Regions from separate parts of the Homo sapiens genome. Here all the other regions are linked to region 3. The links are contacts of gene promoters, found by promoter capture Hi-C in blood cells and fetal thymus (Javierre and others, 2016). All regions are on one chromosome and are shown on one strand. Each heading gives the region's core, a stretch centred on a gene start or on the middle of the fragment in contact. The rest is flanking DNA. Distances are from core to core; before and after follow the strand shown. Region 1 holds the start of H4C5 (H4 clustered histone 5). Region 2 holds the start of H4C3 (H4 clustered histone 3). Region 3 holds the start of HMGN4 (high mobility group nucleosomal binding domain 4). Region 4 overlaps H2BC6 (H2B clustered histone 6). Region 5 overlaps H2BC6-AS1 (H2BC6 antisense RNA 1). Region 6 holds the start of H3C6 (H3 clustered histone 6). Region 7 holds the start of H2BC3 (H2B clustered histone 3).

The links. Contacts are between HindIII fragments. The CHiCAGO score rates a contact against its expected background, and 5 or more counts as called.
Region 1: a contact is called between a fragment that was not itself captured here and the fragment with the promoter of HMGN4 in region 3, in 1 of 17 cell types (neutrophils). The highest score is 5.4, in neutrophils.
Region 2: a contact is called between the fragment with the promoter of H4C3 here and the fragment with the promoter of HMGN4 in region 3, in 1 of 17 cell types (neutrophils). The highest score is 5.9, in neutrophils.
Region 4: a fragment that was not itself captured here is called in contact with the fragment with the promoter of HMGN4 in region 3 in 6 of 17 cell types (total B cells, total CD8 T cells, naive B cells and 3 more); the score reaches 9.6 in total B cells.
Region 5: a contact is called between a fragment that was not itself captured here and the fragment with the promoter of HMGN4 in region 3, in 2 of 17 cell types (neutrophils and total CD8 T cells). The highest score is 6.0, in neutrophils.
Region 6: a contact is called between the fragment with the promoter of H3C6 here and the fragment with the promoter of HMGN4 in region 3, in 8 of 17 cell types (total B cells, activated CD4 T cells, naive CD8 T cells and 5 more). The highest score is 6.8, in total B cells.
Region 7: a contact is called between the fragment with the promoter of H2BC3 here and the fragment with the promoter of HMGN4 in region 3, in 2 of 17 cell types (neutrophils and total B cells). The highest score is 9.8, in neutrophils.

Annotation. Positions count from the first base shown.
Region 1 is chr6:26,204,489-26,208,408 of GRCh38, reverse strand. It overlaps H4C5 (H4 clustered histone 5), which reads right to left and starts at 3,799. Exons shown (of 1, transcript NM_003545.4): 1 at 3,388-3,799. The coding sequence starts at 3,764. The coding sequence ends at 3,453. RefSeq lists enhancers at 2,062-2,161, 2,212-2,291, 3,612-3,751, 3,762-3,920. The HindIII fragment of the contact is 1,833 bases long and covers 946-2,778 here.
Region 2 is chr6:26,102,414-26,106,388 of GRCh38, reverse strand. It overlaps H4C3 (H4 clustered histone 3), which reads right to left and starts at 2,456. Exons shown (of 1, transcript NM_003542.4): 1 at 2,052-2,456. The coding sequence starts at 2,441. The coding sequence ends at 2,130. RefSeq lists enhancers at 2,094-2,784, 2,809-2,918. The HindIII fragment of the contact is 10,429 bases long and covers 1-3,975 here.
Region 3 is chr6:26,536,892-26,540,746 of GRCh38, reverse strand. HMGN4 (high mobility group nucleosomal binding domain 4) reads right to left here and starts at 2,381. Exons shown (of 2, transcript NM_006353.3): 1 at 2,246-2,381. It overlaps TRR-ACG1-2 (tRNA-Arg (anticodon ACG) 1-2), which reads right to left and starts at 3,249; the gene lies at 3,177-3,249. It overlaps TRV-CAC1-6 (tRNA-Val (anticodon CAC) 1-6), which reads right to left and starts at 2,693; the gene lies at 2,621-2,693. RefSeq lists enhancers at 1,761-2,170, 3,431-3,855 and silencers at 2,661-2,710, 3,104-3,397. The HindIII fragment of the contact is 7,010 bases long and covers 58-3,855 here.
Region 4 is chr6:26,184,109-26,188,010 of GRCh38, reverse strand. H2BC6 (H2B clustered histone 6) reads right to left here. Exons shown (of 1, transcript NM_003523.3): 1 at 3,781-3,902. The coding sequence ends at 3,835. Among named protein-coding and RNA genes, the nearest start is that of H2BC6, 2.3 kb to the right of the region's middle. RefSeq lists an enhancer at 1-298. The HindIII fragment of the contact is 1,735 bases long and covers 918-2,652 here.
Region 5 is chr6:26,160,185-26,164,011 of GRCh38, reverse strand. It overlaps H2BC6-AS1 (H2BC6 antisense RNA 1), which reads left to right. Exons shown (of 3, transcript NR_186648.1): 2 at 336-704; 3 at 2,807-3,738. It also overlaps a transcript of H2BC5 not described here. Among named protein-coding and RNA genes, the nearest start is that of H2BC5, 4.0 kb to the right of the region's middle. RefSeq lists an enhancer at 2,690-3,441. The HindIII fragment of the contact is 1,996 bases long and covers 665-2,660 here.
Region 6 is chr6:26,223,622-26,227,393 of GRCh38, reverse strand. It overlaps H3C6 (H3 clustered histone 6), which reads right to left and starts at 2,259. Exons shown (of 1, transcript NM_003532.3): 1 at 1,778-2,259. The coding sequence starts at 2,239. The coding sequence ends at 1,829. RefSeq lists enhancers at 1,017-1,632, 1,633-2,249. The HindIII fragment of the contact is 11,157 bases long and covers 1-3,772 here.
Region 7 is chr6:26,042,087-26,046,064 of GRCh38, reverse strand. H2BC3 (H2B clustered histone 3) reads left to right here and starts at 2,352. Exons shown (of 1, transcript NM_021062.3): 1 at 2,352-2,838. The coding sequence starts at 2,408. The coding sequence ends at 2,788. It overlaps H3C3 (H3 clustered histone 3), which reads right to left and starts at 681. Exons shown (of 1, transcript NM_003531.3): 1 at 196-681. The coding sequence starts at 654. The coding sequence ends at 244. It also overlaps the pseudogene H2AC5P. RefSeq lists enhancers at 319-638, 1,869-2,108. The HindIII fragment of the contact is 16,277 bases long and covers 1-3,978 here.

The DNA.
Region 1 (3,920 bases), core at 613-3,112, 330 kb after region 3:
CCCAGCCCTTTGGGAGGCTGAGGTGGGCAAATCACGAGGTCAGGAGATCAAGACCATCCGGGCTAAAACGGTGAAACCTCATCTCTACTAAACATACAAAAAATTAGCTGGGCGTGGTGGCACACACCTGTAGTCCCAGCTACTTGGGAGGCTGAGGCAGGAGAATCACTGGAACCTGGGAGGCTGAGGTTGCAGTGAGCCGAGATTGCGCCACTGCACTCCAGCCTGGGCGACAGACTGAGACTCTGTCTCAAAAAAAAAAAAAAAAAAATATATATATATATGTGTATGTGTGTGTGTGTGTGTGTGTCTATAAATCAGATTATGTCAGTTCTCCGATCAAACCCTTGCAGTGGCTCCCATCTCACTCAGAGTAAAACAGTAGTCACACTGGTCTGCAAGGCCATATAGAGACTCGTCTCCATTTGCCTCGCAGATCATATTTGCTTTTTCTTTGCACCCTGTCTGATACTGGCAGTGGGTTCTTGACCCTCAGAAAATAGAAATCGACCAAGAATCTAAGATGGACTTGAGCAAGGAAGTTTATTAGGGCTTTCGGCTTGAGCAGAAAGGGAGACAGCAACCAGAGGTATACTTGCAGCTGGCTCCTTGAAAGCAAGCTAGTCTAGTTTGTTATTCTTCTGTGAGCTTCGTCTAGGTGACATCATGGCATGTTTGGGGTGGTCTGTTGGATACACCTTTGCAGTCCCTTGTCATGCTTTTTCCTGTGTCTCAGGTCTCATTGGCAGCTTAAATCTCCACGCAGGGGTATGAATTTTATCATTAACATGATGCAAAAGTTAGGTTAGGATAATCAAAGTCCCTATAGCACATGTTCATTTGGGGAAGGTCTTTTGGAAGTCCCTATGCTGATGGCGAGGATGTTTGTCGTTAGAGTGTTCTATTTCTTTTATGTCTGATTGGCTGATTTTATGAGCGGAAGCTTCAGTGGCTGCAAGGTTATGGAGCTGGGTGCTGCTGTAGTCAGCACAGCAAGTAAACAAGTGTGGAGGGGTCCCTTGTCCTGCCTTCCATTGTCTGCCTCACCTCTGCCCCTTTTTCCAGTCATAATACCTGCTTTTTACCTCCATGCTTTCCTGCTGGGTATTCTATTTAGAATACTCTCTCACTTTCTCAATGTATTTTTTCTTTATCACTTTATGAGTAAAATTTTTCAAGACCATATCATTTAAAATATCACTTCTTCCCTCCACATGCTATGCCTTTTCCTGCTTCAGTGATCTTCATAGCAGTCAGCACCATCTGACACACTGTTTCACTTATTTTGTGTGTGTACCCCCACCCAATAAATATAAATTCTATGCACACATATCGTTTTGTTCTTTCTCATTCACTGCTGTAATTCCCAGAGCATAGAACAATGCTTGGTACATGCTATGTGCTCCTTTTTGTTGCTGTTGTTACATTAACATCCTCATAAAACTTTTTCTCCTCGAACTAGTGCCTTAGCACCAATAACATGATGCTTTTCATATATATGCACGAGCTCACACTTTTTAAAAATGACATTCAAAGTAACTATTTATTTTCCTGATTTCAAAGTATCAGCCTACGGACAACTTGCTGGCTAGAAGAAAAATCTGATTTTCAATGGAACTATCACCCTAAACCAACGGTTTTTTTTTTTTTTAATTTTTTTGGCAGTCTTTCTCTGTTGCCCAGGCTGGAGTGCAGTGGTACCACCTTGGCTCACTACAACCTCTTCCTCCTGGGTTCAAGCGATTCTCCTGCTTCAGCCTCCTGATTAATTGGGATTACAGGTGCCTGCCACCATGCCCAGTTAATTTTTTTATTTTTAATAGAGTCAGGTGTTCACCATGTTGGCCAGACTAGTCTTGAACTCCTGACCTCAGGTGATCGACCCACCTTGCCCTCCCAACGTGCTCGGAATAGAGGCATGAGCCACTGTGCCCAGCCCAAACTTGCGATTTTTCTATCACTTGGAATTTACATAAACCGGACATCATGTGTTTCTGATGTAGTGTACTATGTACATTACATCTGTAAACTGTTCCTGACAGGCATATTCACCCGATTTCAATTAAGTGTATGAAAGTCACTTGTACTTTACAGGACATGGGGAGTACAGAAGCCAAGTAAAACGATTAAGAATCAAGCCAATACAAAACAAAAGCAAAACAAAAACATTCTGTAAGTCTGGTCTCCGAGAAATCAATGTTCAAAAATGGGGAAGTAGGGGAGAGGAGCCTGTTTTAGATAAGAAAACTGGAGACACAACGGAAGTTATGGCTGGATCCTTCTTTAAACAAACCACATCTCCAAGACATCTGGGGCATAACTGTGGAATGACGACATATCTTTTTTGAACAATAGACAATGAGATCCAAGCAGGAAGTAACAAAGACTTTATTTTCAGAGGGAGAAGTAATCCCAGGATGGAATGAGCGCTCTGTGGCAGTGAAGGGGAGCTGGAATATATATATGCCTTACAGAGTCAACCTTACATACAGATTCAGTAGGTTTGGAAAAATTCTATGAGTATTCATGAGGGAGGAGATGAAATCACAAATCCGTCTCCCCGACCAAAATTGGGGGGCTTATGTAGCGAGAAGGGCGAGAAAACAGGAAATCAGGGAGGGATAAGGACGCAATCATGATGGATGAAACATAGGGAGTCTCACGGTCTCGATGCAAGTGATCTGGTGTTTCAGTTCCTGCCTCAGGCAGGAACATGAGTTCCTAAACATGAGTTCCTAAACATTTGTCTCATGTGAGATAAATGCTAAATTTCAAGCTTTAGGGTTTAAAGAGAGTCAAATTCTTTTATTCAAAAAACAGCAAATATCATAACTTCTAAGGGACAACTGGGTTGGCTTAATAGAATTCCGAAATGAATGCTTGCAACCTCTCCTTGCGTGAGCTTATCTACCCCAGGAACTTCTACACACCTAAACTCGGTCGTTAGGTTAAGTAATAGAAAACAGGCCGCTAGAATTTAAGGCCCACACTCCTTTCCAGGAAGATGATTGGTTGCGCTAATTCGCGGGTCCGGCCCATTGCCAGGCACCGGCTTTGTTCTTCGCTCTCCGCCATTTTGAGCGGTTACGCAGTGTCTTGCGGTTTTCCCACTTATGTCGAAAACCATGCATTTTTAGGTACTCAAAATAAAAGTGGTAAGGTAAACAGACACTATTACCCTAGCCTTTTCAGTGCAATCTAAGGCCCTACTACAATAAACATAAAAGGATCGTAGCCTAAAAAATCGTATGCCGAAACCCCAAATGTAATTTGGAACGAAAAAAAAAAAACGGCTGAAAAATATACGTACCTGTTGACAGGAACAATTAACTTATAAAGAGACCAACCAATCGTCTAACAAGTCATGAGCTCTTTTGCGGAAAACTGTGGGCGGCCCTGAAAAGGGCCTTTGATTTGGGAAGTCGAGATGCTGAGTCGTTTAAGCGGTAGCATTAGCCGCCGAAGCCGTAAAGAGTGCGTCCCTGTCTCTTCAGCGCGTAGACCACATCCATCGCTGTCACTGTCTTGCGTTTGGCGTGCTCCGTGTAAGTCACAGCATCACGAATCACGTTTTCCAGAAACACCTTCAGAACCCCGCGAGTCTCCTCGTAGATGAGACCAGAAATGCGCTTGACACCCCCGCGACGAGCAAGGCGCCGGATGGCAGGCTTGGTAATGCCCTGGATGTTATCTCGCAGGACCTTACGGTGACGCTTAGCGCCTCCTTTACCCAGTCCCTTTCCGCCTTTGCCGCGACCAGACATGACCAACACACCAACGAAAATAGCCGCAAAAATCTGAAAAACAAGCGACGGTAGTATTCTTATATGCCGGGAATTCGGACCTAAATGAAGACTGAAAACGCGCATACGGGAACTTTGGTGCTGCCTGCTGGCCCTACCCTTCACAGATCAGACTGG
Region 2 (3,975 bases), core at 1,207-3,706, 430 kb after region 3:
GTTGTTGTTGTTGTTGTTTTTCATCTATTCATTATCCTGTAGCTGAAATTTAGAATTTTCTTCCATTGTGTGTGACTGATAGAAATAACAAATTTGTAGGTTATAGTTGTTGCAAGAATCTGGAAATCGTGCTTGCTTATTTCCGAAGTACTATTAGGTATATCAACAAAAACACACATATTACGGTCAAGTGGTTTGATAATTATTTTAATATTATTGGTCTAATACAATTGTAACCCTATGAATTACTTTAAGTATCTTATTTATGAAAAGAATCTGTAAGTTTCATCAGACTACCAGAGCATACCGAAGACTGAAAAATTTTAAGAATCCAAACCTTAATGGAAATGTTGGAGGCTGCCCAATTAGGTTCTGAATTCCACCTTCCTGAATCACAAACTTGTTTTAACTCTCAGTCTGAGGTAAACTACGTTTCTCTTTAAACAGACATAGTTTAATTTTCCTTTGATTTTTGATTTAGTATTCTTACTGATCATCATAAATAACCAATGCTAATGTTAGTCTACTTTGGACCATGGTATTTCGAGAAACTTTGAACAAAGTCCCCTGCAAAACTATGCATTGCATTATTTCACATACATTTATGTTTTCCAGACGGTTCAATAGTACCTCACTTTTCTGAACTTATTTGTATAGTTTGGCATCTTTTTAAAAATTGTGTCCTATAATGAAAGGTTGTAAACATTATGTTTTAAATTTGTATAGATAAAATCAACCACAGACCTTTCCTTGCTTGGATGTAATTGCCATTGTTTCCCAATGAGTTCGGAATTACTAGGATTGTGCAAAAATATGCCTCACTTGCCTGACATAGCAGAGAGCCATTTTGCCTAAATGCTGTGCCCAGCAATGGACTGTCACCAGATTCTCATCACATACAGTGAGGATGAACAACTAGCCTCTCCCAGCAGCTGGCCGGTCTCTCAATAATATGGGACTCCCTCAAGATGGCTTCCTGCACCTTTGCTCCTCTAGCCTTGTATGTATACAAGGCTAGCATGCCTGGCATACATAAGGTTAAAAACAAAATCAATAAGTTATGGTTCTTCCTCCAGTTCTGGGGATTATTAGACCACTTTTTTGTTTTGTTTTGTTTTGGATGGAGCCTCGCTCTGTCACCCAGGCTAGAGTGCAGTGGCACAATCTCGGTTCACTGCAACCTCTGCCTCCTGGGTTCAAGCAGTTCTCTGGCTCAGCCTCCCACGTAGCTGGGATTACAGGTGCCCGCCACCACGCCCGGCTAATTTTTGTATTTTTAGTAGACGGGGTTTCACCATCTTGGCCAGGCTGGTCTTGAACGCCAGACCTCGTGATCCACCCACCTTGGCCTACCAAACTGCTGGGAATACAGGCGTGAGCCACCGCGCCCGGACTTAGACCACTTTGTTTTGGCCAATAGGACAACAGCCATAGAACCCTCCGCAAATGAGAGCTTGTCCCTAAAGATGCTTTATTTACATAGCTGTGTGCCGCATGAGCCAAAAGGTGATAACCTTTGTTCAACACGCGCCTCCAGCCCTTCGGTTAAGTCCAAAGTACCATTCTTAGAATGCTCTAAAATACATAATTTTTTTTTTTTTTTTTTTTTTTTTTTTTGAGGAGTCTCTCTCTGTCTCCCAGGCTGGAGGGGAGTGGCGCGATCTCGGCTCACTGCAATCTCTGCTTCCGGGCTAGCTGGGCCTACAGGTGCAGACCACCACGCCCGGCTAAGTTTTGTATTTTTTTTGGTAGAGGGGGTTTCACCATTTTGGCCAGGCTGGTCTCGGATTCTTGATCTCAAGTGATACACTAGCTTTGGCCTCCCAAAGTGCTGGGATTACAGTCGTGAGCCACTGCGCCCAGCAAAATGCTTTTTGTGGAGCCAATCACTTTATTAGCGCTTACCTCTCTATGCCTACTTTATGCTTTGAAATTTTGTCACAGTGTGGCCGGTCATGGCAAACACAATTCATTCTTATGCAGGATGTCACGGTTATTTCTGTCATCCAAACTCATTCTCGCAACGCATTTCAGCTCTTTAAACGACTTTGTGAGCGGCCCTGAAAAGGGCCTTTGGGTTTTTTTGTTTTTGTTTTTTGAAGTTCTCAGGAGACCGCGTATTCTTAGATTCAGCCGCCGAAGCCATACAGAGTGCGCCCCTGACGTTTTAGGGCATATACTACATCCATGGCTGTGACAGTTTTGCGCTTGGCGTGCTCCGTATAGGTGACGGCGTCTCGAATAACGTTCTCTAAGAAAACCTTAAGCACACCTCGAGTCTCCTCATAGATAAGACCGGAAATGCGCTTGACGCCACCGCGCCGAGCCAAACGGCGAATAGCCGGTTTTGTAATGCCCTGGATGTTATCCCGGAGCACCTTACGATGGCGCTTAGCACCACCCTTCCCCAAGCCTTTTCCGCCTTTGCCGCGACCAGACATGATTCCTATCGCAGTGGAAGGTATGAACTGAAACAGTTCCTTAAATACAAACTTGGCGGACCTGATTGAAAACAACATGAGTTGGCGCGGTTTTTTTTTTTTTTCAAATTTGGTCACCAAGTGGGTGGAGCAAGAAAAACTGTTTCATTATGGTTCATTGTTTTGATTGGCCAGTGACAGCTTGCTCTTTGTGGGAGTGGAAGGGTGTTTGCAAGTTGAATGCGCTGTATTCCTGTCAGCTTAATGACGCTAAGCATAGCCCCATTCCACATTTCTTTTTATTTCCACTTGCTAACTAATAAATTACGGAATAGTTTATTGGGGAACATACAAATAATGTTTAAAGGAGGTCAGATTTATAGGTCAAGGGATTTACCCTCCCAATCATTTTAATATTTTTATTTAAACCAGGCATTTTGATGGCCTTCTCTGTGCTGGACAAGGTATAAGTTTGGCTATGAAGTTTCACTCCTAAAGACCCTATGTTTTGGGAAGGCAAAAAGGTAGCCAAATAATTGCAAATTAAAACCTCATAAGTGCAAACTTCTTCCTCGTCACTTTCCCTATCTCGATTCAAATATTTGTTGAATGACTCATTTTTCTGCAAAAGTCTGAGAGAGACAGGGAATATAAACTTAAGTCTGGATAATATGTTTTCCCGGGACGCTCTTCCTGGTCTGCTGTGCCTGTTTGCTGTGCCTGAAATTCCAAACACTCTTCCCTTCCCTCCGTTTTTAATCCCCTTTCAACTTGCTACAGCTTTAGAGAAAAGAACATTCGTTTTGTACAGTTGGGGATTAATTGAAGTGTAGGGCTAATACTTGATTAAGGTCATTACAAAATCTACAGGGTCTTCCTCTGGGAGGTTTTTGTGATAAGATTATTGGTGTTAAAATAAGGCTAATCCCCTTGAAAAATAAATAGAATAGCAGAATTGGGTCTGAATGTGGTTTGAAGAAAGGGACTTCTCAATTCAAAATTTTATTCTTAGCTTCCTGCGGGAGCTTTCCAGAATGCCCATAAGATCCACTTTTGTTTAAAAAACAAAAACAACCCCACCCACCACTCTCTGGTTAATAAATGAATTTCTATTGGGAATATTTAGAATGGGGCTGTGGCCTGTGAGAGACATTATATAGTAACCTCAGACTTGCTCACATGAAGAGAAGAAATCCAGGAATGGAGAAAAAAGACCCAGGAAAGGCCAGAATGCTCTACATGTCATATTGTTTGTATCACTTCTGAAATAATTGATTACATTCTTCTGCCCCAAATTGAGTTCTTAGGTTCTTCCACTCACTGTCCACATGCCACAACACAGACCTTATAACTAGAGACTTAGCTAGGAAGAAATGTCAAACATTACAGAGAAAAAATGCAGAGTCTGAGATCATAAGTAAAACTCTGAAATCTCAACATGCCTTTTAATTCATGAAAATAAAAAATATAGCAGCATATGCAATATGACAATTCTCTGAAAACATACATCATGTGAACTACCCTGGAACACATCTCGCCAAGTGCCATCTTCATT
Region 3 (3,855 bases), core at 1,132-3,631:
GAGATCGTGTTTGGGGGTTGGAGGGAAGATCTGGAAGAAAGTTAAGAACACCAAGCTTAGGAAGGAGAGAATAAAGGATATAATTAAAATACAATAAAAAATGCACAGGCAAATGCTGGGCGTGGTGGCTCACGCCTGTAATCCCAGCACTTTGGGAGGTGGAGGCAGGTGGATCACTTGAGGTCAGGAGTTCAAGACCAGCCTGGCCAACATGGTGAAACCCATTTCTACTAAAAATACAAAAATTAGCTGGGTGTGGTGGCATATGCCTATAGTCCCAACTACTTGGGAAGCTGAGGCAGGAGAATCACTTGAGCCTGGGAGGCGGAGGTTGCAGTGAGCCAAGATTGTGCCACTGCACTCCAGCCTGGGTGACAGAGCAAGACCCGGTCTCAAAAAAAAAAGAAAAAAAAAAAAAGATTCACAGGCAAGATGCAGTGTGCTACAGAAGCAAGAGGTCACATGGTGTCAGTCACTCTCCAGGGCGTTTGTTCTTCATCTTCCAAAGTATTAGAGACGCAGCATGAGTTTCCACGGAGGTTAAGTGAGAGAGACTGGGAGATGCAGGGGTAGAAAGGAAAGATGAGAAAACGCAGGGTGTCTAAAAGGGTAGGTTTGCTGCTGCAGCTTGCCAGAATGCATCTGCTTTAAAGAGAAGGAGTGAGCCATAAGCTCCCAAACAGTCACCCATCTGTAAAGGTTGGTTAGGGGCACACTCACCTTCCAGGCTAAAGTATTCCTGCTAACTGGGATCGGAGAAAGATGAAGAGGATAAATCCTTGTCATCTCCTAGGACCCTGGAACCTTTGCCCCCTTTCTGGGCACCATAATAACTTGCTTATATTTCTGAGTAGTACAGAGGGGATTTTAAATGAAAATGTATTAGACAGGTTGCTGTTGAGCACATGCCCAAGTTTATTGTCTTGCTAACCAAGATATTATCTTGCTAGCCAAGGTGTTGTCTTGTTAAGGGAACCAGCAAGATGACAAAAGAATGGACCTTTCAAGTCAACGTCTACCCAAGCAGCCTGTTTAAGAAAATGATAAAAAGAAAACAGCTCATTAACATTGTCCTTTTCTTTCTTTTCTTTTCTTTTTTTTTTTTTTTTTTTAATTTTGCGGACCCACCAAAGAATGCAGCCCTTCTTTTCTCATGGTCATAAAAATATCACATTCGGTTGGGCGCGGTGGCTCATGCCTGTAATCTCAGCACTTTGGGAGGCCGAGGCGGGCGGATCACTTGAGGTCAGGAGTTTGAGACCAGCCTGGCCAATATGGTGAAACTCCGTCTCCAACTAAAAATACAAAAATTATCCGGGTGTAGTGTTACACACCTGTAGTCCCAGCTGCTCGGGAGCCTGAGGCACAAGAATCGAGGTGGAGGTTGCAGTGAGCGAGATCGCACCATTGCACCCCAGCCTGGACAACAGAGTGAGACTCCGTCTCAAAAACAAACAAACAAAAACAAACACATCACATTCTTATTAGTCATTTGAGGGAACCTGGAGCAATATGATCTGAGAGGCTAGGCTTGGCTAATCCCTAGAAAAAGTAGTAATACATCTAAGAAAGAAATCCCTCTTAGGGAACACCCGAGGCTGCCAGGTGACACAACAAAACTTTCTCATAAAAGCGTTTGATTAATCCGATTAACTTGTAAGCAAGCCATGTGGCAGAGGTAAGAGGCCAAACACCAAGGCACCAGTCCTGATTCTAAACAAGTGCTGGTCCATTTCTTAACTTTGGGATCCATTTTTTCTTTGTGATGGAATAGCAAAAGGTCAAAGTGGAGGAGGACTCAGCCCTTGGGTGTCTCCTCAACGAGGGTTTCTCGAAGGTAAATTGGGGAGGAAGGGAGAGCCCACGGCAGGTCAGTCCAACCTGCCAGTCACCACCTCTTTAAGGCCACAGCCCTGCGGGAGCAATCCTTTCAAATCCCCTTCCTTCCTTCTTTTAGAACGCCCCTAGAACGCCGATTAGGACTTCTCATCCCGGTCGGGCCTGCGGCTCTCTGTGACCCCACCTCTGGATTCAGCTTTTCCCAGGGATTCACACTCGGAGCTCAGGAGAGATGCTGCGATTACTCTGGAGACGGGAAGACAGGCGGGGCTGACGGGGCCCAAGGCCCCTAATCATGACCGGGGCCAGCTGGCAGGAGGGTCCTAAGTATACGGAGGGCGGCGGGACCCCCCCCACCACGCCCCTCATTTTCCGGGGTAGCGCACAAAGTCTGTGAGGCACTTACCCGAGTCTCGTGGCCGTCCGAGGGGCGCGGGAATCCCAGCTGAGGCCCGTGACGCGCCGGAGCCCTAGGCGTGGGCAGGGCCAGCACCAGCCCTAAGACAGAGAAGACGAGCGGAGCCCGGCTCCGCCAGGAACAGGAAGGCGAGGGAAGGTGAGGATGCGCTTCCGGGGCTGCAGGCGGGGAGCCGCCCCGAGTCCAAGCCGGAGAGAGCTGGTTCTCCCCCTGGCGATACGTGTGTGAGCCTCTGAGGCCCGCCCTAAGCACTGCTGCCCCGATCTAGCAAGACAAGAAGACAGGAAATTTATGACAGCCTGAAAAAGTCTTTAAAAGATACACACTGGAAGAATTTCGTAGTAAGATGAGGAAAAAAAAACGTGTTTCCGCCCGGTTTCGAACCGGGGACCTTTCGCGTGTGAGGCGAACGTGATAACCACTACACTACGGAAACCCACTAAGGGCTTATTTTTCAGAGTAAATAGTTCTTCCTGCCTAGTTCCGTGTTTCTTCGTTCCAAGTGCGTGTTTTGCTGATGTGCGCGTGCGTCTCTGTACCGACCTCTCAAACCAGAAAAACCAATGAAAAGCTCAGACCCAGCCCCTCCAGTGTTCAAACTGAAGCCATAGAATTTATTCTACAAATGACTGAATAGGGAAGAACACAATAGAGACTTTAATTTAATCTCTGAACGGTCCTTCGTTCTTCGGCCAAAATGGCCAGGCAAGGCTGGGCACAACTTGGGTAGGGCGAGCGTTTCTCTGGCGTAGTTGGCGTTACCACGTGGTCAGTGGCAGAATGCTCCGCAAAGAAATGATAACCCCATATGTTGTCGGGAGCTGCCCCTCTTGCTTCTGAGTCTTCCAGGCAAATTTATCTTGCAGGAATTTCCTTACTCCTGCGGAGTCAGAAAGTTGTAAAACGACCCTGCTTACACCGAGCCAGCCAGGAGTCGAACCTGGAATCTTCTGATCCGTAGTCAGACGCGTTATCCATTGCGCCACTGGCCCTGCGCGTACCTTAGGGGCGAGGTATTTCATAAGAAACTAGGTTGTACCCGTAATATCTGGGTGAACGCCTGTAAGCCGCGTTTGCCCGCTGGTCCAGGCTCGCAGCGCATGGACTCTCTGGTAGCTACTTCTGCACACGCCCCGTGGCCTTCATTCCTTTCTCGGTCTGTCTCTGCCGGCTGAAAAATGGCGGTGAAAAGCAAGCCCTGCATCCTCTCTGCCCCAATATCACCGCTCCATTAATGCGTTCGTTCATTCAACCAGTATTAGTGTTCAAGGCACTGCAGATAACGGTGAAGAAAACATGAGAGACCCTTGCCCTCAAGATTACATGGCAGTGGCGGAAGCGGATAATAAAGCATTAAATAAACAAAATAATAGTGATAAGCGATTGGAGAAAAATAATAATAAAACAGGGAAAGAGGATAGGAAAGGCCAGCAGTGAAAGTGATGAATGAGGGATAAATGCTGATATCGGGGAAATGAGTGATCTGGAACAGGGAAAAATCGCTAGGGAAAAGGCCTGGAGGTGGAAGCAGGCTTGGGAGTTATGTTGAGGAGGCCGGTGCTCAGTGGAGAGGAATAGGAGATCCTGGGAGACCACCT
Region 4 (3,902 bases), core at 536-3,035, 350 kb after region 3:
GCACTTGACTGGCAAATACATTCTTTAAAGAAGAAAGTAGTAATTACCGTGGGAGAAACAACCATGAAAGTACATAAGATTCAACATTTTTTAGTGGAATGGGGAGAGGCCAACTTGTTTGGTTCTGTTCCTCTGAGCTGCCTTCCATCCAGATCTACTGATTTTCTATTGTTGAATTTAAAAGGACTTTTTATTTATGTACCCGTGGCCAATTTAAAGGTATGTTGAACGAGTTCTTTTTTTGTTGTCCTTTTATCTTAAATAGTCTTAGACTTTATTATTAACAGAAGTCATTTTACCTTAAATCATAGATCAGGTTACTGTGGTTGCATGAATGGGTGTTTAAAACCGAGGTTGTCATGATTAAATTCCCACCTTCTTTCCCTTTACACCTCAGGAAATGAGACAAAAATAAGTAAGCCATTCCCTAGTGGGTTACTCCAGTCCTTACAATCGCAGGACTATCAGTATGCCACTGTATTATTCGCTGTCCTCAAAATGGATTTTAATTTGTGGAGAATATTGAGTAAACCCTTATTTTTCCAATAAAGTTTTTTCACTTTATCATAATAAAAAGAAAGCTGGACAGGTGGCTATCTAGCAAGAGACAACATTTCCTGGTCTTTCTGGGAGCAGATGTAAGCATGTGGCTACATTATTTCCAACACAGGTGAGACACATAGAAAAGTTACTACCAGGTCTGGGCTTTGAAACTTCCATGTTACCTTCTTCCCCAAGTATAATGGTATTGATTTCATTTTGAGCAATTAGAGAACATCAGGCCCTAGGAGATGACAGAACATTGACTTGGAAGGAACGAAATTTCCTGATTGATCACAAGGAGCAGAGCTGCTTCACAAAGCTGGACTAATCACAATGGATTTGTTCCATGAAACAAAAATATCTGTCTTTAAGCTTATTTATTGTTGAGTCTCTTTGTAAGCAGCATAACTTTATCACACAAAATTCAGTTTTGTTACTAAACTTATTTAGTATTGTGGAATGTCCTTCCATTGACCTGAAAGCTCTTTACAGAAAAGCTGATGCCAAATGAGCCTGTCGACTTGGTATCACCTCTGTTGGGTTCCATTATAGACAGAACAGAGTGGGGCTGATTACAAGTTAGAGATCAGGCAAGGCACGTGGCTCACGCCTGTAATCCCAGCTCTTTGGGAGGCCAAGGTGTGTGGATCACTTGAGGTCAGGAGTTTGAGACCCGCCTGGCCAACACGGAGAAACCTCGTCTCTAATAAAAATACAAAAATTAGCCGGGCATGCTGGCACATGCTTGTAGTCCTAGCAACTTTGGGGTCACAGAGTGAGACTCTATCTCAAAAAAAAAAAAAGTTATCAATGGGTAGACTAGATAGTCTATATGTCTTCAGCAGTGGTAACCTGTATATTTCAATGGGCTGACTTCCCTTCAAGAGTGGTTCTGCTGGGCACTGTGGCTCTCACCTGTAATCCTGGCACTTTGGGAGGGCAAGGCAGGGGGATCACCTGAGGTTGGGAGTTCGAGAACACCCTGACCAACATGGAGAAACCCTGTCTCTACTAAAAATAAAAAACTAGCTGGGCATAGTGGCACATCCCTGTAACCCCAGTTACTCAGGAGGCTGAGGCAGGAAAATCGCTTGAACCCAGGTGGCAGAGGTTGTGGTGAGCCAAGATCGTGCCATTGCACTCCAGCCTGGGCAACAAGAGCAAAACTCTGTATCAAAAAAAAAAAAAAAAAAAAAAAATAGAGTAGTTTGTAGTAATAGATGGATCAAAAACTCCTTTGAGAATCTGTTGAAAATAGACATATGAACATAGACATTTTATGAGGCTCATTATTCTCAGAAACTCAAGGAACTCCCAGGGCTCCATGGATTCCTGTCAACAACCAGAAGTCTAGGATTTCAGGGTCTGAGATCTAGAGATCCCAAATTTAAAGATAGAGAGGAATCGCAGACATAATACTAAATAATACATTGAACAGGAGTGAGTTACCATTTGCTGAGTGAAATAGACCTATATTCTTCTTCTTCTTCTTCTTTTTTTTTTTTTTTTTGAGATGGAATTTCCCTCTGTCACCCACGCTGGAGTGCAGTGGTGTGATCTTGGCTCACTGCAGTCTCCGCCTCCTGGGTTCAAGCAATTCTCCTATTCTTCTGCCTCAGCTTCCCAAGTAGCTGGGACTACAGGCCTGTGATACTATGCTCAGCTAATTTTTGTATTTTTAATAGAGACAGGGTTTTGCCATGTTGGACAACCTGGTCTTGAAATCTCGACCTCAGATGATCCGCCCTCCTTGGCCTCCGAAAGTGCTGGGATTACAGGCGTGAGCCACCATGCCCAGTCTATCATCTCTCTTCCTTCACTAGGATATGAGCCTCAGAAGGGCAGTCTCTTGTCTATCTTGCTCACTGAAGTATTTCAATGCCTGGCACAGAGGGAATGCAATCAATATTTGATGAAATACTGAATGAAATCCCTTCAACTACTCTCTGATTTGTTTATTGTATCCCCTGCTCCATTACTCCTGCCATTTCTTTGGCTTGAAACTTTATCCTCCTTCAACATCATTTCCCTCCACTGCATCCAGTCTCTTGCCACCAGAAGCATATTCCTAGAACTAGTTATAATTTTGTTAGTCCTTGCTCACAAGCTTTCTATAACCTTATTGTCTGCAAAATAAATCTAAACTTCATTGTTTGACATTCAGACTCTTCACAATCTTCTCCCACATCTTTATCACAAGAAAACTCCACGTGAGCAGGAGGCTTGGTTAGCATATTCTTTATCTCAGCAATCTCCTTTAACAAGCTCTCCAGGTGATTCTGATGCACACTGAAGTCTGAGAACCACTATTCTCAGTGCAGAAGTCCTCAGTACAAAATTCACTGCTTGGCACTTGAATATGAAGGAATGACTATCCATTTTCAACCTACTGGATATTCCTTCCATCCACCTTCGCCTGGAAGCTGCTTGTATCAGGCAGTGCAGATGCCTCCTCCCCAAAAGTCATTTTCCCTCCTTTCTTCCTAATACAACTTTCTTTGTTCCCTGACTTGTTCTCCAGAGAAGGCAGAGTTCCTTCTAGCCTCAGGGATCTGATTAATTTGACTACACCTATCCTAAAGATCACATGCCCCTTATTAATGATTGGATTGGGGATAGGTATATAGTCAGTTTTTGTGATTAGGAGAATCCTTAACAATGGAGACCCAACTTCTCTAAGAACATGATAAAGATGAGATGGGGATTGTCGATCAATGAACAATGTGTGTATGTGTTTGTGTGCGAGCGCGAGTGTGGTTGCACACTGAGAATTGTTCAAGTCTAATTGGTGAAACCAGACAGGTGAGGCGGTAGAGGGAAGAGGGTTTTATTTTTTCCTTTAGAACCTAAAATAAAAATCCAAATTAAGACCTTTTTGAAGTAATTGAGGAAAGGAAAAAAGCAAATTCAACATTAAGAACTACTTGAAAGCAGCAGTCTCCTCTCCTCCTTCCCCACCCCCGCTCCAGCCCCCCATAATATGGGCTTCTTTGGTAAAACCCGTATTTTTAAGGACTCTTGAGAAACGAAGTTTCTCTTCGTAGAGCAAAACTATGAAATTACTATTGCCTCTTAGGTACTATCGAGTGATACCTCATAAAACACGGAAACCAGAGTTTCATAAAGCCACCAGCCCAGACAGTGAGTGCCATTTTAAGTTTTAAAAACATGCCTATTTCAGCTGCAGGAGTTTCTAGTATCTTCACATGTCAGTATATAGCTCCAATTGTGAAAAGGTGAGTGGCTCTGAAAAGAGCCTTTGGGTTTACTAAGGCAGTTGCAGGGACAAGTTTACTTGGAGCTGGTGTACTTGGTAACGGCCTTGGTGCCCTCTGACACAGCGTGCTTGGCCAGCTCCC
Region 5 (3,827 bases), core at 413-2,912, 380 kb after region 3:
AAAGGGTGTAGCTTAATTCTACTTCTGGGTATGTGCCAGATTTCAGTGACTTGTTTATATTGAATAACATGTGCCGGAGGAAATGGCTCACACCTGTAGTCTCAGCTACTTGGGAGTCTGAGGCAGGATTGCTTGAGCTCAGGAGTTCCAAGGTGCAGTAAGCTAAGATCAGGTCCCTGCATTCCAGCCTGGGTGACGGAGCAAGACTCTGTCTCTAAGAAATAAATAAATAACGTTTAAAAAGTGTGGCAGAAGTGTGTAAGTTTCGAATCTTGTTCACAAAAGGCATTGCGGCTTATTCCTTCCCCTTTCTCTTTCTTTTTTCTCCTGCTAAGAGAAAACAGTTGTTTGGTTTTGAAGATAATCAGTTACCCCTCTAGAGAGGTCTAACGGGCAAGGAACTGAGGCCTCCACCCAAAAGTCGGCTTGAACTTGCCAGATATGCGAGTGTGCCACCTTGGAAGGGAATCCTCCAGCTACAGTCAAGGATTCGGATGATTGCAGCCTATGTTTACAGCTTGACTTCAACCTCAAGGAAGACCCGGAGCCATAACCACCTAGCTAAATCACTTCTGGATTCCCGACTCACAGAAATTAGTTTTGGGATAATTTGTTACACGGCAATAGATAACATAATAGACATGGGGAGCCCCACAGTTAAGCTTATAGAGCTACCATAATTTTTATAATGAAACTTGATAAAGGTAAGCCCAAAATAGAACATAATAGAATGGGCCAGGTGCGGTGCCTCATGCCTGTAATCCCAGCTACACAGGAGGCTGAGGTAGGAGAATCGTTTGAACCCAGGAGGTGGAGGTTTCAGTGAGCCGAGATTGTGCCACTGCACTCCAGCCTGGGTGACAGAGCGAGACTAAATCTAAAAGAAAAAAAAAATCATAGAATGATTTTATGCAAATAGAAATGGAAAAAAATCATGAAAAATATTAACAAAATTTACCCAGGTATTATTTAAAATAATAGTATACCATGACCAAATAAGATTTGGACTAGGAATAAAAGCATGAATCAACACAAAGAAATCTATCTATACTTCATGGCAACAGGTTAAAAAAGAAAAAGCATATGATTTCTTCAGAAGTCAAAGTGATCGAATAAAATTCATAAATCATACCTAATAAAAAATCTTAAAAGAAGATTAGAAGGAAACTACCGGGCTCGGCACGGTGGCTCACACCTGTAATCCCAGCACTTTGGGACCCCATGGTGGGCAGATCACTTGAGGTCAGGAGTTTGAGACTAACCTGGCCAGCATAACAAAACCTTGTCTCTACTAAAAATACAAAAAAATTAGCCGAGTGCGGTGGTGTGCGCCTGTAATCTCAGGTATTCAGGTGGCTGAGATGAATGCGGGAGGCTGGGAAGTGGAGGCTGCAGTGAGCAGAGATCCGGCCACTGCGCTCCAGCCTGGGCAACAGATAAAACTCTGTCTCAAAACAACAACAACAACAAACAAAAACCAAAAACTACATTAACACAATGAAGACTACATATACACATCCATGCACATACACACAAAAGCAATTATAAATCATCAACCACCGAAGTCATTTCTATGAACAGGAGGAAAAAGACAATACCTGGTAGCATGTCTAATGTGACATATTGTTTGTGATGGTAGCTAGCACAGTAAGATGATTAAAGCAAACAATAAATAGTTATGGGAGAGAATATCGAACATTTTTATTTGCTAATAGTACTATATGCAATTAAAATCAAGTCAGTCGACTATTGATTAGGATTAATAGAATTTGATAAGGTTAGCTAGACACAAAATTCATGTAAATAACCAATTATCCAATTATCCTCCTACATGCAGAATTTCAAACAGTGCTTTAGTGTGAGGTCATATGTCAATATGTAACAGAAGTCACAATCTTTTGAAAATCAGTATTACATCTGTAAAAATTTGGAGAGCTTAATTAATTCACAGCACACATAGTGACTCCCTTTTTTTGTATCATTTTTCTGTTTAAATATTTACTTTGTTAACCTAGGCTTGCTTTGATGAGCAATACATTAGGTTTCAATTTTTATTTTCTTATATTATTTTTAATTATTAGTAATCCATCCATTCTAGAAAATTATTGGCCATGATCTTTTAAATCTCACATTTGCATCATTCTCCCTGATTGTTTCTTCTGGTACTGTGATTAGGTCAACGTCAGATCATATTTTACTACTAATTCTAGGTCTCTTTTCATTTATTTATTTATTATTTGAGACAAGGTCTCACTCTCATTGCCCAGGCTGGAGTGCAGTGGTGTGATCATGGCTCTCTGCAGCCTTGATTTCCCTAGCTCAAGTGATTCTCTCACCTCAGCCTCCTGAGTAGCTGGGACCACAAGCACGCACCACCATGCCTGGCTAATTTTTTGTATTTTCAGTAGAGTCGGGGGTTTGCCATATTATTCAGGCTGGTCTCCAACTCCTGGGCTCAAGCAATCCTCCTGCCTTGGCCTCTGAAAGTGCTGGGATTACAAGCATGAGTCACCTTGCCCAGCCCTAATTCCAGGTTTCTTAAACTCACTTTTGCATTTTTATCTCTGCATTTCAGATAATTCCTTAAGATCTGATTACATAGTTTATTAAATTTCTACCGGTAGGTCCAATTGGCTGCTGTTAAACACATGCAGTAAGCTTTTCATTTCAATTTGTCTTATAATTACATGTTTATTTTCTAGAATTTCTATTAGGTTCTTTTTTCAAATCTATGTGGTCACTTTTGGTATTTCCTTAGTCCCTCAATATATTTATAAGACTTTTTGTTTCTTTTTTTTTCCTTCAGATGGAGTTTCACTCTTGTTGCCCAGACTGGAGGACAATTGCGTGATCTTGGCTCAATGCAACCTCTGCCTCCTGGGTTGAAGCGATTCTCCTGCCTCAGCCTCCTGAGTAGTTGAGATTACAGGTGCATGCCACCATGCCTGGATGATTTTTGTATTTTTAGTAGAGATGGGGTTTCACCATATTGGCCAGGCTGGTCTCGAACTCCTGAGCTCAGGTGATCCGCCTGCCTCAGCCTCCCAAAGTGCTGGGATTACAGGCGTGAGCCACTGTGCCTGGCCTCTTTTTCTTTTTTCAAAAAGACACTAGTCAATTCGAGTCTGTTTTTTTTTTTTTTTGAGACAGAGTCTCATTCTGTGGCCCAGGGTGGAGTGCAGTGGCACGATCTTGGCTCACTGCAAACTCCACCTCCCGGGTTCACGCGATTCTCCTGCCTCATCCTCCTGAGTAGCTGGGATTAAAGGCGCACACCACCACACTGGCTAATTTTTTGTGTACTTTTAGTAGAGACGGGGTTTCACTATGTTGGCCAGACTGGTCTCGAACTCCTGACCTTGTGATCCGCCTGCCTCAACTTCCCAAAGTGCTGGGATTACAGGCATGAACCACCGTGCCTGGCCTCAAGTCTGTATCTTGTTAATTCTCCCTTTTCATTTCCATTGTCTGTTGCTTTTTTTTTTTTTTTTTTTTTTCAGAGACAGGATCTCAAACTTTTGGCCTCAAGCAATCCTCCAGCCTCAGCCTCCCGAAGTGCTGGGATTACAGGCATTAGCCACCACGCCCAGCTCCCATTGTCTGTTGCTTTTGTTTTCATTAGTCATACTTCTAGTTTCATGATGTTTAATTTAGATTGTGAAGCTCCTTGTGCATTTTTGGGGGGATATTTTAGCTGTGGCAATTTGTTGAGGTGTAAAATGAAGCTTCTTTTCCAGAGATGACTTGTATTTGTTTCTACCGGGTGCTCAGGGGCACAAAACCAGCCTGGGATATGCCTAAATTAAATTCTCAGCTTGGGTGTTTGA
Region 6 (3,772 bases), core at 1,010-3,509, 310 kb after region 3:
GATGTTCTGGTGGATTTAATGATATAAAAAGATGCATTCTGTGCCCACCAAGTCCAAGTCCTCACGTACTGAATTCCAGTAGCTGTAAGAGAAATACAGGTTAAAACTTGTTGAGCTAGAATCTTAAAGAAAGTACAGGATACAGGAAACAACATTCAAATAGAGAATGCTTCTATCTAGCATAATAGGATGTTCACTATGTTACAAATATCTGACAGTAGTTACCTTAATTATGGATAGTTAGGCTGTTTTCCTCACGCACTGAATCTCCAATTCACAAGACCCACATCTTCATGTCTGACAGGCTTCCATGAACAAAAATTTCTTCCATAAATCTCCAGGACTTCTTACTATGGCTACCTTGGCCTGCAGAGCTATTTACAGCTTTGTCACTATTAATTTTACCACATGACTAACCTCTTTCCTTAGTGCAACTAGTGGGAAAAGAGCACATTCAAAAAAGTTAGTAGAAATTTCTCAATGAGTTAAAAATACTGCACCCCATATCAAAACTGAGGAATTTGCTGAAATGTTTAAATAAACAAAATTCTTCCAAATAGCATGCAGTATCCCATATAGTACATACACCCTTCTGTATTTCCAAATAACAGCCTGTATGATTTCGTAACAGAATTCCTTATTTTCCTTCCCTTCACCTACCAGTTTCGAAGCTGTGCCTTTGTATGGAAAGGAAAGGCAGAATATTTTCTGTAAGAACTTTGAAGCCGTCCAAGGATTTTCATGTTTTGTTGATAAATATGGGGTACTTTTAATGAGATTTGATTAAGACAGGGTATTTACTAAAGTTGAAAAGTTCTTTTAAGATATCAGCCGGAAGGCCGGGCGAGGTGGCTCATGCCTGTAATCCCAGCTACTCGGAAGGCTGAGGCAGGAGAATCGCTTGAACCCGGGAGGCGGAGGTTGCGGTGAGCCGAGATCGCGCCAATGCACTCCAGCCTGGGCAACAAGGGCGAAACTCCGTCTCAAAATAAATAAATAAATAAATAAATAAATAAATAAATAAATAAATAAGAAAAGAAAAAAGCAAACAAAAGATATCAACTGGAAAGTTGAAAAGGCTCATGATTTCTGCATTTTCCTTTCGCACTCAGGTTTGAGACACACCCATCTGCACCTTCGTTGCTTTGACTCCTGCAGTTTAGAACCTATGCAAGGCTGTCAAGTCTGCAAGAGCTGTGTGTTAGTGCCACGGGTCTAGGTGTTCCAGCTAATAACCTTAGCCTTAGACCAGTATCAGGCGCACAGAGAGTAACGTTGACCGCACCCAAGGCACCGACCGTCGCCGGCAAGTAGCTGGGTCTCAAAACACTAGTGGAGTAAGGCAGCCTGATGCAGATCAAAAGCGCTGGCCCCTCGGGCAAGGTCAAATAAACATCAAGGAAAGGCAAAACCAAGGCGTTGAAAGCCTATGCAGTTAAGACCTAAAATGCAGGCCACCACATGAAAGAGCGTTGAGCCAGAAAACAAGAGGATGGGTTAAGCAGGGTACAATTAAGTGGCCAGGAGTTTAGAAAACGAGAACAATGTACAAGAAAGCAGCAGAGGGCCTGAACAGCAAAACAAAGCCAGCTAAACCAATGGAGAACAGCGTAGGGAGGCCCAGCCCTAGGCGAAAACCTGAGGGAGCGCTTAAATTTGGAAATTTAAATGAAGCATCGAGGGAACTGAATGCCACTATTTCAAATGTCTATTTGGATCAGTGCAGTTTAGTGGTCTAATGCGTCTCAAAGGATTACAGCCCTTTTCACGGACAAAGTGGTTGGCTCTGAGAAGAGCCTTTGGATTTAAGGTTTGTACTCAAAACAATTCACGCCCTCTCCCCACGAATGCGGCGGGCAAGCTGGATGTCTTTAGGCATGATGGTCACGCGTTTGGCATGAATAGCGCACAGGTTGGTGTCCTCGAAAAGCCCCACCAAGTAGGCCTCGCAGGCCTCCTGCAGCGCCATCACCGCGGAACTCTGGAAGCGCAGGTCGGTCTTGAAGTCCTGAGCTATTTCTCGCACCAGGCGCTGAAACGGCAGCTTCCGGATTAGAAGCTCGGTAGACTTCTGGTAGCGACGGATCTCGCGCAGAGCCACGGTGCCAGGGCGGTAGCGATGGGGCTTCTTCACGCCGCCCGTGGCCGGAGCGCTCTTGCGAGCTGCCTTAGTGGCCAGCTGTTTGCGCGGTGCTTTACCGCCTGTGGATTTACGAGCCGTCTGCTTAGTACGCGCCATAGTTCATCTGCAAAGTAAATGAGTTAGGAAGATTGGTTTGCCCCTCTATATAGGAACAGAATCACTCTGATTGGATTGTGGACGATCCCTGTTAGTGATCGGTTGCTAAATTCCGGAAGTGGCCGTAGAGATTCACGATTGGTTTATTTTTTCAGTGCAAGATTCTGATTGGTAAATTTGGATAGAGAACTGGCTCTTTCAAACAAGTCGTTTTCCGTTACAGGTTTCTTTGATGTTTCACGTAGACCATGACCTGCAAAGACATTGATCATTTAACTTAATAGACTGATCTGTTATCCTGTTTAGCTATAAAAAATCGAATGTGTTTGCGTTAGAAAGTGCTTTAGAATTTTTTTTCCAAAATCTCCGCTGCTTTTTTCTGCATTTTCCTGAAGTTTTTCCCTTCCTTATTCACTCATTTAAAATCCGTTGCCTAAGTATCTCTCAATGATTCCTCGTTTCATTATAGAGTACAAGGCTAATTCACTCAAACAAGGTTTTCTAAGATACACTGTTAAGCATAAGGAACTTTGTGTTTCATTTGTGTTATAGTAAAATTCTAATATCCTGGAATCCCTACCTCTGTAATATCGGGTTTGACTCAAAGAACTTAACACTATTATTTCGTTTTGTTGAAATTAAAACGTCCAGACATAATGGCAAGAGCCGTCAAAAAAAGTATTTTCAATTTAAAATCTTGAAAAAGATGGCGGCGAAGAGAGTGTTAGAAGGTTGTTTCTCTGTAAGACAACAATGGCGCAGTTTCTCCGGATCCCTGCGGGAGAGAGCTGAGGTGCACCGAACAATTTAAGACACATCCAACAGAACTTTTATAGGAACTGGACTCACCCAAATAACAGGACTTCTTAACTTGGTTTTCGCTTCCACACTCAACAGCTCCCAATTACTTTGAAAAAGTAACAAATGTTTACTGGAAAAGATTCTTAAAGAATGACATTACAGCCTAACACTATTGTGAATTAACCTATCGGATTCCCTGTAAGGTGTTCTTTTCCTAGCCAATAAAAAGAGCAGTTTGGGAATTCCTAATTTACATACTTTTAATCTATTGGCTACTTTGGTTCAGGCAGAGTTTTGATTTACAAGTTCGCGTTTGTGTAAGCGTACTATAAATATTTCAGAGAGGGATAGTGCGCGTGCGTGCCCGTTGCAAGGTCTAGTTTCTTTTTGTTTTTCTTTCCCAGTAGGTTTTCTTTCTCATTGGAAAGCTATTTTGTAAAGTGTAGCAGGTTCGCAATGACGCTGGCATGTAGTCCAAGGCGATTGACATCATGAATATGCTGGAGCCCCCGTCCTCCAGGGAGGGGAAACGGCTAAACCAAATTTATCACTGCCCGCAAATGCCCGCGGATGTCTGCAAGCTGGAGTGGAGAGGAGACAAAGGATGCTTTGTGCATTCCTGCTCATTCCCTGAATTCTGTTAAACCTGCCCTATTTTAGGGCATTCATCAAAATTCTGCTAACCACAGGATTGATACAATTGCACCTTTCAAGTTAGTGTCTATTTTGCAA
Region 7 (3,978 bases), core at 1,103-3,602, 490 kb after region 3:
TGCTAAAAAGACCCCTAGGAATTTTTTAACAAGGGCAAAACAGTAACTCAGCTTGTTTTCTCGCAGTAAAACCGGTTGAAAAGGCCTGATAGACTTGTCTGCAGTTACAAAACTTGTGTGTAGTTATCACCTTTATATCTCCTGGAAACTAACATAGACAACCGAATGGGTTACAACTGTTTTTAAGTGAAATTGTGAGTGGCTCTGAAAAGAGCCTTTTCAATGAGGAAGAAACGGGCAGACTTATGCCCTTTCCCCACGGATGCGACGTGCCAGCTGGATATCTTTGGGCATGATGGTGACGCGTTTAGCGTGAATAGCGCACAGATTGGTGTCTTCGAAGAGTCCCACCAGGTAGGCCTCACAAGCCTCCTGCAGCGCCATCACCGCAGAGCTCTGGAAACGCAGGTCGGTTTTGAAGTCCTGGGCGATTTCTCGCACCAGGCGCTGGAACGGCAGCTTCCGGATCAGCAGCTCGGTGGACTTCTGGTAGCGACGGATTTCGCGCAAGGCCACGGTGCCCGGGCGGTAGCGATGAGGTTTCTTCACGCCACCGGTGGCCGGAGCGCTCTTACGGGCTGCTTTAGTAGCAAGCTGCTTGCGCGGAGCTTTGCCGCCGGTAGACTTGCGAGCTGTTTGCTTCGTACGAGCCATTTGCAATGAGAGCACACACAAAAGTGTAGTGAACTGAGAGCAAGTGGCCTTTAAATATAGTGAGAAACATTCTGATTGGTCCTGTAATATTTCAAAAGTCCCGCGCGATAAAATCATTGGCTGAAGAGTGACCAGACTGATTGGTTCATTACTAGACAATCTTATTGGATGAGTTGCCCCACCGCCCATCCTGTCCTTTTCGTTTCAGTTATCTGCAGCGACAAATTGTCTAAAATTCTAGTTCATCCAGTCCCAAAGAACAGAGTGTATAACAAGGTATCTAAGGATTTTTAAAATGTAAATTCCGATTCAGTAAGTTTGAGTGGGACTTGAAATTCTGCATTCCTGACAGTCTCGCAAGTTATCAATGCTGGTGAACACTCACTAAACCACCAGAAACGTTCAGACTCATGTCGGGAAATAACGCTTATATTCAGAGAATGAGATTCCATGCTATTTTGTTACTGGCGAACAGCAAGTTTCCTTGCCCTTTGTTTTCTAAGTCCAAGTCACATTCCCACCCTGCCTGTTCTCAAAATGTCTTATTTTGGTTGGCCTTAAGTTTCACTTTGTATACTCTAAAATGTACTTTCTAAAGGAAGGTGTTATTTTCTCGAAACTTAACTTTTTAACACCATTAGGCTAGGGGGGCGGTGGCTCACGCCTGTAATCCCAGCATTTTGGGAGGGCGAGATGGGACGATCACTAGAGGCCAGGAGTTCAAGACAACCCTGGCTAAAATGGTGAAACCCCGTCTCGCATAAAAATACAAAAACTAGCTGGGCGCGGTAGCAGACGCCTGTAATCCCAAGTACACAGGAGGCTGAGGCATGAGAACCGCGTGAAGCGGCGGGGTGGAGGTTGCAGTAAGCCGATATCGCGCCGCTGCACTCCAGCCTGGGTGACAGAACTAGACTGTCTCAAAACAAACCAATCCAAACGAAAAGCAAAAAATACCCTAACAGAAGCAAGTTATCATCCTTTCTTGTGTAACTATGGACGGCTCTGAAAAATGCCGTTTCAAGTGTAAGCTACGTTTTCTGATTTGAGTGTTTACTTGACCTTGGCCTTATCGTGGCTCTGTTATTTTGGCAACAGGACGGCCTGAATATTGGACAGGACGCCTCCCTGAGCAATAGTGACGTTGCCCAGCTGCTTGTTGACCTCCTCGTCGTTTCGGATGGCCAGCTGCAGGTGGCGGGGGATGATGCTGCGGGTCTTGTCACGTATGGCGCTGCCCACCAGTTCTAAGATCTCGGCGGCCAGGTATTGTAAGTACACTGGCGCACCGGCTCCGACCGGCTCAAAATAATTGCCCTTTCGAAAAAGATGACGGACTCTGCCCTATTGGGAACTGCAAGCCCGGTAGCGACGAACAAGTTTTTGCTTTAGCTCCATTTTCCACGTCCGCAAATAGCGACCTATGAAAGCAGCGGAAAACTGTGAAAGACAAGCAAGCTGGAATGGCGCCTGAACAAATCCTTTTATACAAACTGCAAGGCTGCAATAGGAAGCTATCCTATTGGTCAATTATGTTTGGTGCTTTATCCAATAGAAAAAGATAACATAAATTCCATATTTGCATAAACCCCACCCCTCAGTGAAACCGTGTTTCTTTTGTCCAATCAGAAGTGAGGAATCTTAAACCGTCATTTGAATCTCAGGACTATAAATACATGGGCTCTGAACTGTTCTCTGTACTACTCTGTAGTGGAGAGTGTTAGTAGCTTTTCTATTCTGTTTAGGAATAGCAATGCCTGAACCCTCTAAGTCTGCTCCAGCCCCTAAAAAGGGTTCTAAGAAGGCTATCACTAAGGCGCAGAAGAAGGATGGTAAGAAGCGTAAGCGCAGCCGCAAGGAGAGCTATTCTATCTATGTGTACAAGGTTCTGAAGCAGGTCCACCCCGACACCGGCATCTCATCCAAGGCCATGGGGATCATGAATTCCTTCGTCAACGACATCTTCGAGCGCATCGCGGGCGAGGCTTCTCGCCTGGCTCACTACAATAAGCGCTCGACCATCACCTCCAGGGAGATTCAGACGGCTGTGCGCCTGCTGCTGCCTGGGGAGCTGGCTAAGCATGCTGTGTCCGAGGGCACTAAGGCAGTTACCAAGTACACTAGCTCTAAATAAGTGCTTATGTAAGCACTTCCAAACCCAAAGGCTCTTTTCAGAGCCACCTACTTTGTCACAAGGAGAGCTATAACCACAATTTCTTAAGGTGGTGCTGCTGCTATTCTGTTTCAGTTCTAGAGGATCAACTGGAATGTTAGCGAAGACAAGTTTTAGAGCCAAGGTTAACTTGGACGGGGCCGTGCGCGGTGCCTCTTGCCTTTAATCCCGGCAATTTGGGAGGCCGAGGCGGGCGGATCACGAGGTCAGGAGATGGAGACCATCCTGCTTAACACGATGAAACCCCGTCTCTACTAAAAATACAAAATAATTAGCTGGGCGTGATGGTGGGCGCCTGTAGTCCCAGCTACTCGGGAGGCTGAGGCAGGAGAATGGCGTGAACGCGGGAGGCGGAGCTTGCAGTGAGCCGAGATCGCGCCATGGCACTCCAGCCTGGGTGACAGAGCGAGACTCCGTCTCAAAAAAAAAAAAAAAAAAAAATTAAAAAAATATGAAGTTTTGAAGCAGAAATTATTTTGTCGTATGTTCTTTCATAAATTTTTTGCCTGCCTGCCTTCTTCCTTTGTTACAGAACTCCAACACTTACCCAAAGGTAGCTGTTGGGTCAGGGTTTCTGTACTATAGTCCCTTCTGTGGTGGCCAGAAATATGTTACAGGAAAGAGGTCCCCATCCAGACCCCAAGAGAGGGTTCTTGGATCCCGCGCAAGAAAGAGTTCAGGGTGAGTCCGCAGTGCAAAGTAAATGCAAGTTTACTAAGAAAGTAAAGTGGTGAAACGACAACTACTCCATAGACGGAGCAGGACATTCCCGAAAGTAAGAGGAGGAAGGCATCCACCCTAGGTACAATACTTGTATATATGGGGAGATGTGCTCTGCTACAAGTTTGTGATAAAGGATTAATTTTCTTAGTTACTATATTTTGCAAGAATCAACATTATTATCTTTAAACAAAATTAAGAATGCCTTTGTTCTCCAGATATAGGGATATCTGGACACTCCTAAGTCTGAGTCTGTTTAGTAAACATTATTTATTTGTTCCCTTAACCGTAAACATCTAGAAGCTAGGAATGACTGACTTTCTGGGAATGCAGCCCAGAAAGTCTCAGCCTCATTTTCCTAGCCCTCACTCAAAATGGAGTTACTCTGGTTCAAGTAACTCTGACACTTTTCTTCTCTTTTTTTCTTCTTT